Regions from separate parts of the Homo sapiens genome. Here region 1 is linked to region 2. The links are contacts of gene promoters, found by promoter capture Hi-C in human tissues and cell types (Jung and others, 2019). All regions are on one chromosome and are shown on one strand. Each heading gives the region's core, a stretch centred on a gene start or on the middle of the fragment in contact. The rest is flanking DNA. Distances are from core to core; before and after follow the strand shown. Region 1 overlaps NLGN1 (neuroligin 1). Region 2 holds the start of NLGN1 (neuroligin 1).

Region 1 (6,437 bases), core at 1,963-4,462, 180 kb before region 2:
ATCATAGGAGAGTTGACTTTAAAACAGCCAACTACCACAAATCCTTAGTTTCCTATTGATGATTTATTTGTTGAGTGCAAATGGCTATTACTATTATCAATTAATATTTCAGCATCCATACTGAACAAGTATTAGATATTAATATAGAACTGAAGGTTCATTTTTCAGTATGTTTAAGTGTAAAATGAGTTCACAGAGTAAGGTAGTCAATGAAGAAAGAGGAGTAAAAGGAGAAGTGAAAGGAGAAGGAGGGATAGAGGAAAGGTGTTTGAGAATAAAAATGTGAATCAAATTCATTTATCTCCCTGGTGATTTACTGACAGAGAGGATAGAAACATACTTAATATTTGTATCCTTCATGATACAAATTATTAGTAAATGACTGACTTAATAGATCAAACAATAAAACTAGTTGCTATATGAAGAGAATAAATTCTCTAATGAAGAGAATCTCTTCATTAGATGGGCTTGCTAATTTCTTCAGAAAATGAAATCAATACAGGAGGAAAGTAAAAATTAGTATGAATAATAATAATGGAAATAAAAGACCAAGATTGGTAAACCTGAGCACTATAGGGCATTCCAATTTAACCGTGTTATTAAAATTTCAGCTCTGATAAAAAACATCTTAGAATTACATATCTTATTTTGGTTTCTATACCAAATAGAAAATGATGGATTGATTAATACCAAATGGATCATGTGAGGAAGCAGCATAGTTTTCATAACAAATAGAGGAGTAAGTATTTCATTGTTGCTTTTAATACAAAAGAGTTATTTTGAGAAAAGGTGGGGTTTTTTTTGAAAAATCATATAAATGCACATCTTTTATGACCAGGTCAAATCAATTCAGCTCTGGCTTGTGATAAACGTTTTAGGATGTTGTGAAAGATAGCAGCTCAGTGTCTGAAAAAGAAGAAATAACCGAAATATTTCATGTACCCCATAAACATATATACCTACTATATACCCACAACAATTTTTTAAAAATAATTTTAAAAATTCTGAAGCTAGAAATAAAATAAAACAGAATTGTAAAGCAAGTCTGGAGAAAAAAAAATCCTCTACCATCTTCAGAACTCCCCTGATGTAACCTCATATTAAGTGCTCAAGACTTGAATCTAAATGAATGGCAATTGGGAATTATGAAAGAAACAAAAATAAAAAGTGGTGCAACATTGTAAGTTCTAACTACTGCAAAGGTGACTGTTTACAAAGAGGTTCTTTCTACGGGGAAGAATCTACTCCCACAATCCTGCTTAATTAGAAAAGACTACTTAAAATGCTTGACTGGTACTGACTATATTTCAGATACGTATTGGGAGAACACACCTGCCTGGATGCTAAATATACCAGATGTATCTTTATATTTCATGGAATAGAGATTGGTAATGGAAACTAAGGAAGTGATGATCAAGACTAGACATTTTGTTTGTTTGTTTATTTATCTTGAGACCTGGTCTCACTGTCTTGCCCAGGCTGGAGTGCAGAGGCACGATCATGGCTCACTGCGGCCTCAAACTCCCCGGGCTCAGGTGATCCTCCCATGTCAGCCTCCTGAGTAGCTGAGAATACCGGCGCCATGCCATCACATCAGGCTAATTTTTGTATTTTTTTCTAGAGACAAGGATTCACTATGTTGCCCAGGCTAGCCTTGAACTTCCGAGCCCAAGCAATCTGCCCACCTTGGCTGTGCTGGGATTACAGGCATAGCCACTGCGACTACCCAAGACTAGATATTTTAGCATGAGACTGCCACTTTTGAAATGGGGCTTTTTCATCAATGTTGGTTAGAGATGCTAAAAGATATTTACAGAGGGACTCTTAAAAGGGTTTAAATCAGAAATAAATCCAGATTTTCAAAACAGACTTGAATAATTCTGACTTGTTAAAAACTTTCAAATAATGGTGCCATTAGGCTAATAATTAAGATTCTGTTTTCTTTTAGAAAAAGGTCTTTTTTACATCTATAATTTATACATTTATTTAATTGGTAAAATTGAAAAATATAGAAATTTCCAATTTCAAATGTTTTAGCTAATAATAGCATGATGCATTATTTTGCAGAATATTTTCTTCATTTTTGAATGTAAGTACATTTGTGAGGCAGTATTTACGCTGACCCTCTAATAACCTCAGAGCAGGTTCTCTTGATATTTTGGTGGCTTTTAATTCCATAGTACCATGATTGATTTTGACATTGCAATGTAGTATAGAATGAGTTAAATTGTATAAAATTATCTTAGATGTTTCTTAAGTACTGAAAAAACACAATCAGGAAACCATCTTATTAAATATCATCTATTAATGCTTATTGTAAAATATTAGTTTATTTGAGTCTATGTTTCCAGTATTAGCAGAATATACTATAAAGTTTGACCTAATAGGATGGGAAACCACATGAAAATTAATGTTCTATAGTTCGAGATGGAAAGAGAAATTTTTAGTTATATCCCAGTGGTATTGACATCTCATTGACTTCACAGACAAGAGTTGGGTACTCTTTTTTTGGATAGGATTTTATGCTAATTACATAATTAAAAGTAAACACTAGCCTGAATTTTCATTATTGTTCAATTAGCAACTTAATGAGCATCTTCTACCTGTCCCAAAATATTTAGTTCCATGATTTCCAAAATATTAAATAAAGGAACCCTTAAAATTACATCTTCTTCTTCTTTTTTTTTTTTTTGAGACGGAGTCTGGCCCTGTCGCCCAGGCTGGAGTGCAGTGGTGCGATCTCAGCTCACTGCAAACTCCGCCTCCCGGGTTCATGCCATTCTCCTGCCTCAGCCTCCCGAGTAGCTGGGACTACAGGTGCCTGCCACCACGCCCAGCTAATTTTTTGTATTTTTAGCAGAGGCAGGGTTTCACAATGTTAGCCAGGATGGTATTGATCTCCTGACCTCGTGATCCACCTGCCTCAGCCTCCCAAAGTGCTGGGATTACAGGCGTGAGCGACCGCATCCGGCCTAAAATGACATCTTCTAAAGGAATGGTTATTTCTCTGTCTTCTTGTCTCTCTGTCTCTATCTATCTGTCTATATATCTGTCTATCTATCCATCTATCACCTATCTATCTACACATTAATCTGTCCCTTTAAGCTTTGATTACTTACAAGAAACTGAGAAAATATGTCACAAGTTTTTCAAAGATGATATATTTTTCTAAGATCATGTGTGTTTGGTTTTAGAGTTTGTTTTTGCTTGTATGTGAATAAAATTATTTCTGATGACCTAGAAACAAGCAGAATGATTTAGTTAAACAGAATGACAAAACTATGTTACATTCAATGCATAAGAAATTGTTCAACCTTCCAACCATCATAAAATTCATGACTCTCAGCCTTTTCTTGTGTCCTCTTCTATAAAAGTTTCCCAAACCTTCCCTAGTGATAAACAAGCTAACAAATGGTGGATTTGTTACAAAAGAAAACAATTAAATTTTGACCCTTTATTTATAAATTGTACTAGGAGGAAGGGAGAGAAGGAAAGCAGGACATGGTAATATTTCAGACATAGTTGTTTACATAGATGAAGCAGAAAAGGCAATGTGAAGAAAGTTCAAAGCATGATTTGTTACATCACAAAATAGACTATGAGGATAGATGGTTTATGTGATAACAGAAAGTATACTCATTATTTGATAGAATGAGAATATAATTCTTGGCTTATGTGTAATACATTAAACCAACTCACAATTCACATCCTCATCATTCATAAGTCTGGTGAAGCTAGAAGATATATCTTATAGCTGAAATTCATCATACAAGGACTCAAACTAATCATTAAAACAACTACAGTATATTTGAACAGTGGCCCAAAGAACTGCAGTTTTAAAGTTCCTTCATAGACTCACAGACTCCTTTTGCTAAACAGAAAAAAGCACAAGAAGATAAATGACTTAACTAAGATCACGTTGAGGTCAGCAGCATCGCCCAGATGAGAAGCTGTTGTGCCATGCCACACCTGACTCGATGTTTCTTATGATTGTTTTTTGGTATTACCGTTTCGTTGATCTTAAAATATTGGACCACAAGCAAAATTTAAAAATTGAAATTAACAAATCAAGAAAGAATAGCATTAAATATACTTAATACGGTAATTGGAATAATACCCTCCACCACCCTCCCCCGCCACAGATGTCTTAATTCCTGGAATCTGTGCATATGCCACTTTATATGGCAAAAGAGACTTTGCAAATGTGATTAAATTGAGGATCTTGAGATGGAGAGATTACTCTGGGTTATCTAGATGGGTACCAAGTAATCACAAGGGTTTTTATTAGAGGAAGGCAGAGGGTTCAGGGGTCAGAATAAGAGTAAGAGATGTGATAACAGAAACAGAGATGAGGGAGAAAGAGAGAGTCAGGTAGATTTGAAGATGCTACACTCTTAGCTTAGAAGACGAAAGAAGGAGCTACAAGCCAGGGAAAACAGGTGGTCTCTAGGCAAGAAAACGGAATTTTTTCTAGAACTTCCAAAAAGAACACAGGCTTTGCCAATCATTTTAGGTTTCTGACATCCTAAACTGTAAGATAATAAATTTGTGTTGTTTTTAGCCATTAAATTTGTGGGAATTTGTTATAGCTACAATAGAAAACTAATACACTTATTTAAAAATATTAAAGATATTAAAAATATTATGGAAATAATCAGTGCTGCCCATAGAAACATAATGTGAACCACACAGGAAATTTTAAATTTCCTAGCATCCACATTAAAAAATGAAGAATCAAGTTAAATTAAATTTAATACTGTATTATATGTAGCCCAATATGTCAAAATATTATCACTTCAACATATAATCAATATGAAAGACTATTATTGAGAAATTTAATTGCTTCCATATAAATATATTCAAAATCCAATGTGTATATTATATTTAGAGTACATCTCAACTTGGAATAATTCCTTTTCAATAGCTCAATGGCCACATAAGGCTAGTGACTACCATAAAGGATAGTGCAGCTTTAGATTATAAGAAACAAGTTAAAAAGAAAATTTTATATATTATTCCATATCATTCTAAAGCTCTGTCACAATCTAGATAAAGGATCACAAAGGCTTCTACAAATTATCAGGATGGTTTTACAGGCAAGTTTCTGAAAACTTTGTATTTGAGAATTATATTTAAAAAGAAAGATCTGAAAAGAAACGAAACTTAAAAACAACATGAAAGAAGAGTATGATTACCTAATGATACTGATACTGAGTTGACTGACGTTTGTAAAAATGCCAGCAATAATAGAAAGAAATTTATGTGGTATTTTTAGAAGAAAATGACAGCCAAGGATGGGATCAGAATAAGATTGCTTGGAGCCAACTATATAATATGAACAAATGACCAAGAGAAAAGCAAAACTATTAAATCTCAGCTCCAATTGCTTCATAGGGAAGAATGGTGTTTGAACTGGAAAAGAATATGATGGTGAAGAAATAAGAATGCCTGAAGGTAACTTAAATTTGTTTTAAGATTTCAGGTCCAAATTTGTTACCTAATTTAGAATACCAAAAGTACGTGAAGAAGTGTTCTTGGAACTAATATCTATTATTTTTAAGTCACCATGAAAAAGTGCCATGAAAATTAACTGTCCTGGTTTTCAAACAAGATTCCATAAACTGAAGTTTACCAATCTTGACATTAACTGAAATTCTAAAACTGATGCTCATATGTGTTTGCTAAGTGTAAAGTCACCATAATTTTTTTTTATTTTTTTATTTTTTATTTTTTATTTTTAGAATTACTGGAGCTGGGTGCAGTGGCTCACACCTGCAATCCTAGGGCTTTGGGAGGCCAAGGCCTTTGAAGCCAGGAATTTGAGACCAGCTTTGGCAACACAGTGAGACTCTGTCTCTATGCAAATTTTTTAAAAAATAGCCCGGCATGGTGGCATGAGACTGTGGTTCTAGCAACTTGAGAGACTGAGGCGGGAGGATCACTCAAGCCCAGGAGTTGGAGGCTGTAGTGAGCCATGATTGTGCCACTGCACTCTAGCCTAGGTGACAGAGTGAGATCCTGTCTGTGTTTTTTAAATAATTATTGGAGTGGCAGATCAAATGTGTCATTTGCATAGTTTATCTTAACTGCATCCAAGGGCTTTTACAAAAGTCACCCCTAGTTTTCTTGTGAACAAAACTGTGACATATGGGCTAAATGATGGTGTAGTTGAATAAATCCCTTAAAAGTTGAACAATCATTCTACTGTAGTATTCAATATATGTTCTCTCATGTTATCTTCTCTATTCCTTTTTTGAGTCATAAAATTCCTAAAGGAATTTGTTTTGTAATTGGGCTTGTCCATTAAGTATGTTAGTTTCATGGGAAATAGGAATGAGACTTTAGTAAGGTGCCTGCCTTAGATTACAGACTTTAAATAAATTATTTAAAACCATCAACTGTTTTGGAATTAGTATTTTCAATGATGCTTTAAAAAT
Region 2 (6,494 bases), core at 722-3,221:
GGCACTGGATAACCATGTGAAAATAGTAAAAGCAGAATAAAATATAAGAATTTCAGAGTTGGAAGAGACTTTGGAGAGTGATCCAAGAAAGTCATCCAGGAATGCATAGGGTCATCAGGCCTTCCAACACCCTGCAAATGAAACCAATGGAGTTCTCAGCCTACCTTCTTTAAGTGTATATTTCACCTTCAACTTCAAAGCCATTCAAACATTTACATTTGAAAATATGTTATTACTAAATGTAAGTGGAAAATTTCACAAAATAAAACTATACTGAGGGAATAAAGAAAAGATTGACAGCAAGTACTTTGGGGGTGGAAGAAGGGAGACAATGGGAAGGACGGGAACTAAAGAAGCTTTTCTTACTCCACACTACTGGAACTCTAGTAGAATCTGCTGAAAGATTGACTCCCTCAATTTCTGCTTATGTTAAGAGGATTGGGAAGACTAACTGCAGAATAGCAGGCTTACAGAAAACAGTTACTTCTTTTAATCAAACCATGTAATCAGAAGGCCTGAGTAATGATTAACTTCCACTTTCTCTGTGAATCACTCAATCACTCTGCAGTGCAAGTAGACTTAGATTCATTCTCTGCCAAAGGCACAGTAAATTTAATGTTTTTGCATTTAACATTTAATATTTTAAATATATGAATGGCCCTTGCTTCTGAGCTCATTTCAAAAACCTTGTGTTCTGCTAGGTTACAATGGCTGATAGAAATGCTGAGACATTTTATAGGTTTTACACTCAAACATAGGTACACATACCCTTTCTCAGTGACATTTTAATATCTATGATCCTATTAATAATTGAGCACAATTAATGGTGAGAAATGCATTAAGACCCTGTAATTTTCATGTACAGCATGACAACTCAATTGACTTAAGCAAAAATAGTCTACCGGAGTTTGAGTATAAAAAGAGGGAAAATGAGTATATTAACTACCTGTAAAAATGCAGAGTAACAGATACTGGGTTAACTATACGAATTCACGTTTCCCAAGTGTTATATGTATCACTATGGCCCTGGAAATGCAAAAAGAAATAGTACCTTTGTGGAGGCCAACTGTTCATGATTTAGAATTATCACAAATGAATCAAATATTGGACATGTAATATCCCTCATCTCTATAACACACTAACAACCTCCTCTGGAAGAAATTATTCCCAATGCAAAATCTCAACCTAAATAATTTTAAATTCAGGTGGTTTTTCATTTCTACTCACAAGGCATTGTGTTGAGGCGGGCAGGAGTCGGTGGAGAACGGTTTAAATGTTTGGAATACCTTCTCTTCCCAGGAGAGTTTATTGCCCAATAATGCATAATATATTAGTTGCTCAACGCGGGGGATCTAGGGAGTGACATCTTGACTGGAAACACACAGATCTGAAAACCACCTCTCAGGAAACGTTGTGGGGAAGAAGAGCAACTTTCTTATCCCTGTCAAACTAACCGGCGGAACCAACCCCAGAACTAGCCGGAGGGCCTGGGGAGAGCAGAAGGCTGAAAGCAGCTCCTCTGCGCTCCGCCGAGGGTTCAGGCAAGGGTTTTCTTCTGGAGGCGGCATTGTTCCTCCATCTGCTCAGCCTCCGTATTTCGCCAGGAAACCCTCCCCGCTTTCTCGTAATCTGTTCCTTATTTCTTTTGTACCTCTCAGCCGATTTCCATGCTCTTGGTCTCTGTGGTCCCAGGGCACAGCTCTAGGGTGAAGAGCTGCAGTGACTGGGGCGCCGCTCTAAGGCTTTGGAGGCGACTGCACTCCGCCCGGGCTCTGGCAGCGTGAGCGCCGCACAGTCGCTCGCTCCCTTCTCTCCGGTCTCTCCGGCTCGGACGGGCTCTCCCGGCCTCTCATCACCCACTCCGACTCGCCTTTCCTGCCGTGTCTCCCCACGCCAGCTCCGCGCGCTCGGCGCTGGCCGCCCGGGCGCGCTCTCCGCGCCGCCGCCTGATCCTCGGCTTACAGCCGCGGCGCTCCCCCGCCCGCCCACAGGCCGGGACTCCGAATTGAAGGGTCAACCCTCCGCGGGGAGGCGGGGAGGAGCGGCGAGGAGAGCTGGGGCAAGTGGGGAGCCGCGGGTGGGGGGACTGACGGGGGAACGGGAGAGTGAGGCCAAGAAGAAAGAAGATGCATCTGCTCCGAAGACGCCAATGAAGAAAGGACAGAGGGGGCAGGAGTGGAGTGGGGGAGAGAACGCCCACCAGGAGGGTGGGCAAAACGGGCAATTTACAAACTGCCGGGGCTGGAGATGCCGCGCGGAGGAGGAAAGAGGTTAGCGGCACAGAAGAAGAAATGAGGGGAAGTTCCCACATCTCCCCAAAAGGTCACGTTTGAAAACCGTGTCCCTTGAACGGGAGTTAAACAAGCGACTGGCCATGGTGTAAAAGGTGGATTTAAAAGGAAATTTAGTGTCATGTACTTATTTAGACACGGCTTCGTCTCGCTCAACTCTGGCAAATTACCCTCCAAGTAAAATGTATTGGTTTTATGCAGAAACGGAAGGCGAATCTCCTCCACTGTGGACTCCTCCTGAGATTGGTTTGTTTGCTGGTTATCTTTCTTTTTAAATGAAAAAAAGCGTTTGGGAGCTTCCATGAACCCCAACGCTTAAAAAAAACCACCCAGTTTATTAAAGTTCATTATTTTTTATTGCTTTTATTTTCATCAGAGGATAGGGTGAGGGACTGGCATCTTCAGATGTTTAAAACACTTATTTAGGTAGCATTATTTTTTATAAAGGACACGATTTCCTAAAACCGCCAGAAAGGCTATTGGAAAACTCAGCTACTAGCCTGGGAAAGAGAGACGCATTTAAACTCAAATAGACGATTATACCTCCAGCACCCCCCACCCCCACCCCAATGGGATTGGAAAAGGGTTGAGTTTACAGAAGAGAGAGAGCAGAGAAGGGTGGGTGGAAGGTGGGGAAGGCGAAGGAGAGGCAGGGAATAGGAAGTTCTCGGCAATCCCCGGGATTAAGGTAAACGCCGGAGCTCGGCGGACGCAGGAAGCTCCCTTACCTTTCTCTCTAAGCCCCGTTTGCACCTGATCTGCAACCATAAATACTTCGTGGTGCTTAGTGTGCAGCCAAACGATGGCCAAATGTTAAACAATTCTTCACGCTCCCTCCCCCTTTTAAAAAACAGGCTCAAAAGAATGTTAATAGTGTTCTTGTTATCCATCGGCTCCAAAACATTCCGTTTCGTGGGGAGGAGAGACGAAAACCAGGCCCTTGGGCACGCGTATATGTATTTATATATTATGCGGTCGGTATATAAACATATATACGTTTCCTGCATGTAAATCCAAAATGAAAAGCACCACAGATGCTTCTGTAAACGGGAGGGGACAGCGAAGAGCAAAACTTGGCAAGCCAAATGTATCCAGAGATTTCGTACCAGGAGCCACCTGCTTCAATATGCAGAATTTCCGAGAAGATTTAGAGGGAGAAGGAAAAAAATTAAAAATAAAATACCCAAAACACACACTTGAAACTGGAAGACACCTATGAAGCTTGGAAATGGAGAGGATGAGAAGATCTCCCGGGGCTACAGATCCTCAGCTAAGTGAGCAATCGCCTCCGAAAATCATAGGCGGGGAGGTGGCTGCAGATGCGTCCCCTGCTCCGGTCCCCGCCGCCGCCGCCGCCGCCGCCACTGCTACCTGTAGACACGCACACACACACGTACACGCGCGCACACACACTGCCACCTTCTCTCTCTCCCTCTCCCCTCACTCCGTGGCGTTGTCGGGTGCAGGAGTCTGAATCAAGCCAGACCATCCTCCAGACCCAATCCTGCCCCCCTCAGAGCCAGGACTCCCTCCGCTGCCTCCCTCTCCCCGCCCGGTTTATTGCACAGCGTCCCCTCCCCTGCGCGCCCCTCCCGCCGGTCGGAGGCGCGATCTTGGTGGGGGTGGGCTTCGGGGGCGCGGGTCCGGCGGTGGCAGACTTGGTGCTGGTGATGGCCCCTCCCTTTACAAGTTCCGCCCTCCTCCCTTACTCCTCCCGCGGCAGCCGAGCGTCCTCCGCCCGCAGCTTCCGCAGCGCCCGCGGCGGCAGGAGGGGTGAAGGGCCCAGGGAGTCACGTGTGAGGTTCGCCAAACCACTCAGAGCGGCGTGTGAGTGAACGGGCACGACCGCCCAGACGCGAGGCGTCGGACGCTCTGAGTTTCTGTCTTCTCGGCGTCATCGTGCTCCGGTTCCAGGCGTTTTCGTCTTGGTGACGGAGAGCGCGGAGTTGGAGGCAACAGCCTTCCACTGTGCCTCTTCTTTCCCCCGCCCCCCTCTTTTTGGTAAATCTCTAGCCACCAAACTCCCCTCTCTTTCCTCTGCTTCCTCTAGCTAGAGGCAGAGTAATCTCTGAATTGAAGCGTTCGTTGGCTGTAGACTGTTCCGTGCGAGTAGTGTGAACGCAACGCCACTGCCTTTGGCCTCTTCCTCCTGGCTGTGCCCACAGCTTCTGCCGCTGGATAGGTGATTTTAAAAAAATCACAGCTAATCATTGTTGGCTTTTGTGACGGGTGTGACTCACTGTAGCACATTGTTTACACCTACCCGCTTCCCACTAGCCTCTCTGTGTGAATTTTTAAATGTAAGTAAGTTGGAAGATAGGGCGGTGCCTACAGAACCACTAAGTTAACTGATTGCCACCTGTAATAATCGTAACCCCAAAAGGAAAACCTAGCAGTAGAAAAATCGCTAGAAGTGACACGTGAACTAGAGATATGTTTTTTCTCACCATTTAAGAGCTTGCTTCATATTTCTCAATCTCATGTATGCTTTAATCTCCACAATTCAAGTAAAAGAAAGGAACTTTAACATTTACACTGCAATGGCCCCTATCACTCACTCATTAATTAATAACAGTAAGTAAGAAACCAAGGTTCTACCATTTCCGCTCTGATTTTTAAAAAAACAGTCTTAAATATGACATGTTCCTTTGGCTTAGAGGAAATTCAGTACCACATTGTCTTGATGTCGTTTTAGAATCCAGTCTATCTTGTCATGTTTTTCTTTTTTTAAAAGTAAATTTTAGGCTATATGTTGACAAATCCAGCAGATTTCGGTAATGCTCCCAAGAAAGTGAAGTTTCTTTCTACTAAAACATGCATCTGATTCTTGGTAACAGGTGTACCATGCCCAACTTGCACAAGTTTGTCTAATTTGACAACCTAAACCCTTTGAAATTTGTCTGGAATTTCCTAAGAAAGTTGAGAAATAAGTATCTATTTCAATATTTGTGAAAGTACCTAAATGGGTCCTGTTAATTTTCATGAGATTACATCGTTAACCTAACTTGATATAGGATATGATTTTGACAAGCGAAGAATAAAAAAGAAATAAGGATGATTCTATAAAGTTCTCCATTATAATTTACATAACATAATGTTTTATATACTCTCTTGTATCCCAAGGCTGTGGGCACCACTTCCTAACTATATTTGCTGAGGTTAATATCAGAATCCTAATGGTAATAACTAAGCATTTTTCACTTCCAATATTTGGTATTTATAGTACGAGATTAATTTTAAATAGGTTCTATTGTGGGTTCTTTTCATTATTTTCATGGCTACACTTTATCAGTTGGCCATTATTACCTCATTCCTGTGAGTTAGTTTTACAAAAAGCCTAAGCATTTTAACAAAATGAATTGTTACACAAACAGCATTTATCACAATCTGTAAATACAGACGAATGAGCCAAACCTCCTTGCTCATTTTTTTCCCACTATACCAATCAAACCCTCTTAAGGAAATAAACCCATCCCCTACCATTTGATCTCAAAAGCAATTACATAGCAAGAAGTTTTGTTTTTTACTTTTTCTTTTGTTGGTATGTAGTTAAGGGCTGGGACTCTCGAATCAGATTGCCTGAGTTTGAATCCTGGATTGACAAATTGTTATTGCCCGGTGCATGTCACTTAATCTCCTTAAACTTCGAATTTCACCACTGCAAGATGGAGATAATTATGCTCCCTACCTTGTAGAATTGTTGTAAGGATTATCCAAAATAATGCATGTAAAGCACTTGGCACACAAATTATGTAATTCTTCAATGTTTCTATTTTTAGTATCTTCATGATATGTTTTCTGATTCAAACACCAACACACATGCGTGTGTTTGTATGGATATTAGATTAGTGTTAAAAACTGATAAAGACATTTGTTGGCAATATATGGTATCTGTAACCAGAAAGTCATTAGTGATTTTAGAGTGATTCCTAGGTCCTTCCTGCCTTTTTTTTTCTTTTATCTTTATCTTTTTTTTTTTTTTTTTTTTTTGAGACAGAGTTTCACTCTTGTTGCCCAGGCTGGAGGAGTGCAATGGCACAATCTCAACTCACCGCAACCTCCACCTCCCAGGTTCAGGTGATTCTCCTGCCTCAGCCTCCCGATTAGCTGGGATGACAGGTATGCACCACCATGTCTGACTAATTTTGTATTTTCAGTAGAGACGGAGTTTCTCCATGTTGGTCAGGCTGGTCTCGAATTCCC

Evidence for each region. Contacts are between HindIII fragments. The study calls those that stand out against the background at their distance.
Region 1: a fragment that was not itself captured here is called in contact with the fragment with the promoter of NLGN1 in region 2 in 1 of the 25 tissues and cell types used here (dorsolateral prefrontal cortex).

The regions. Positions count from the first base shown.
Region 1 is chr3:173,574,491-173,580,927 of GRCh38, reverse strand. The region is part of intron 1 of NLGN1 (neuroligin 1); the gene reads right to left. Among named protein-coding and RNA genes, the nearest start is that of NLGN1, 180 kb to the right of the region's middle. The HindIII fragment of the contact is 4,311 bases long and covers 1,057-5,367 here.
Region 2 is chr3:173,393,221-173,399,714 of GRCh38, reverse strand. It overlaps NLGN1 (neuroligin 1), which reads right to left and starts at 1,971. Exons shown (of 7, transcript NM_001365925.2): 1 at 1,652-1,971. RefSeq lists an enhancer at 3,203-3,702 and silencers at 3,928-4,017, 4,038-4,117. The HindIII fragment of the contact is 5,603 bases long and covers 1-5,185 here.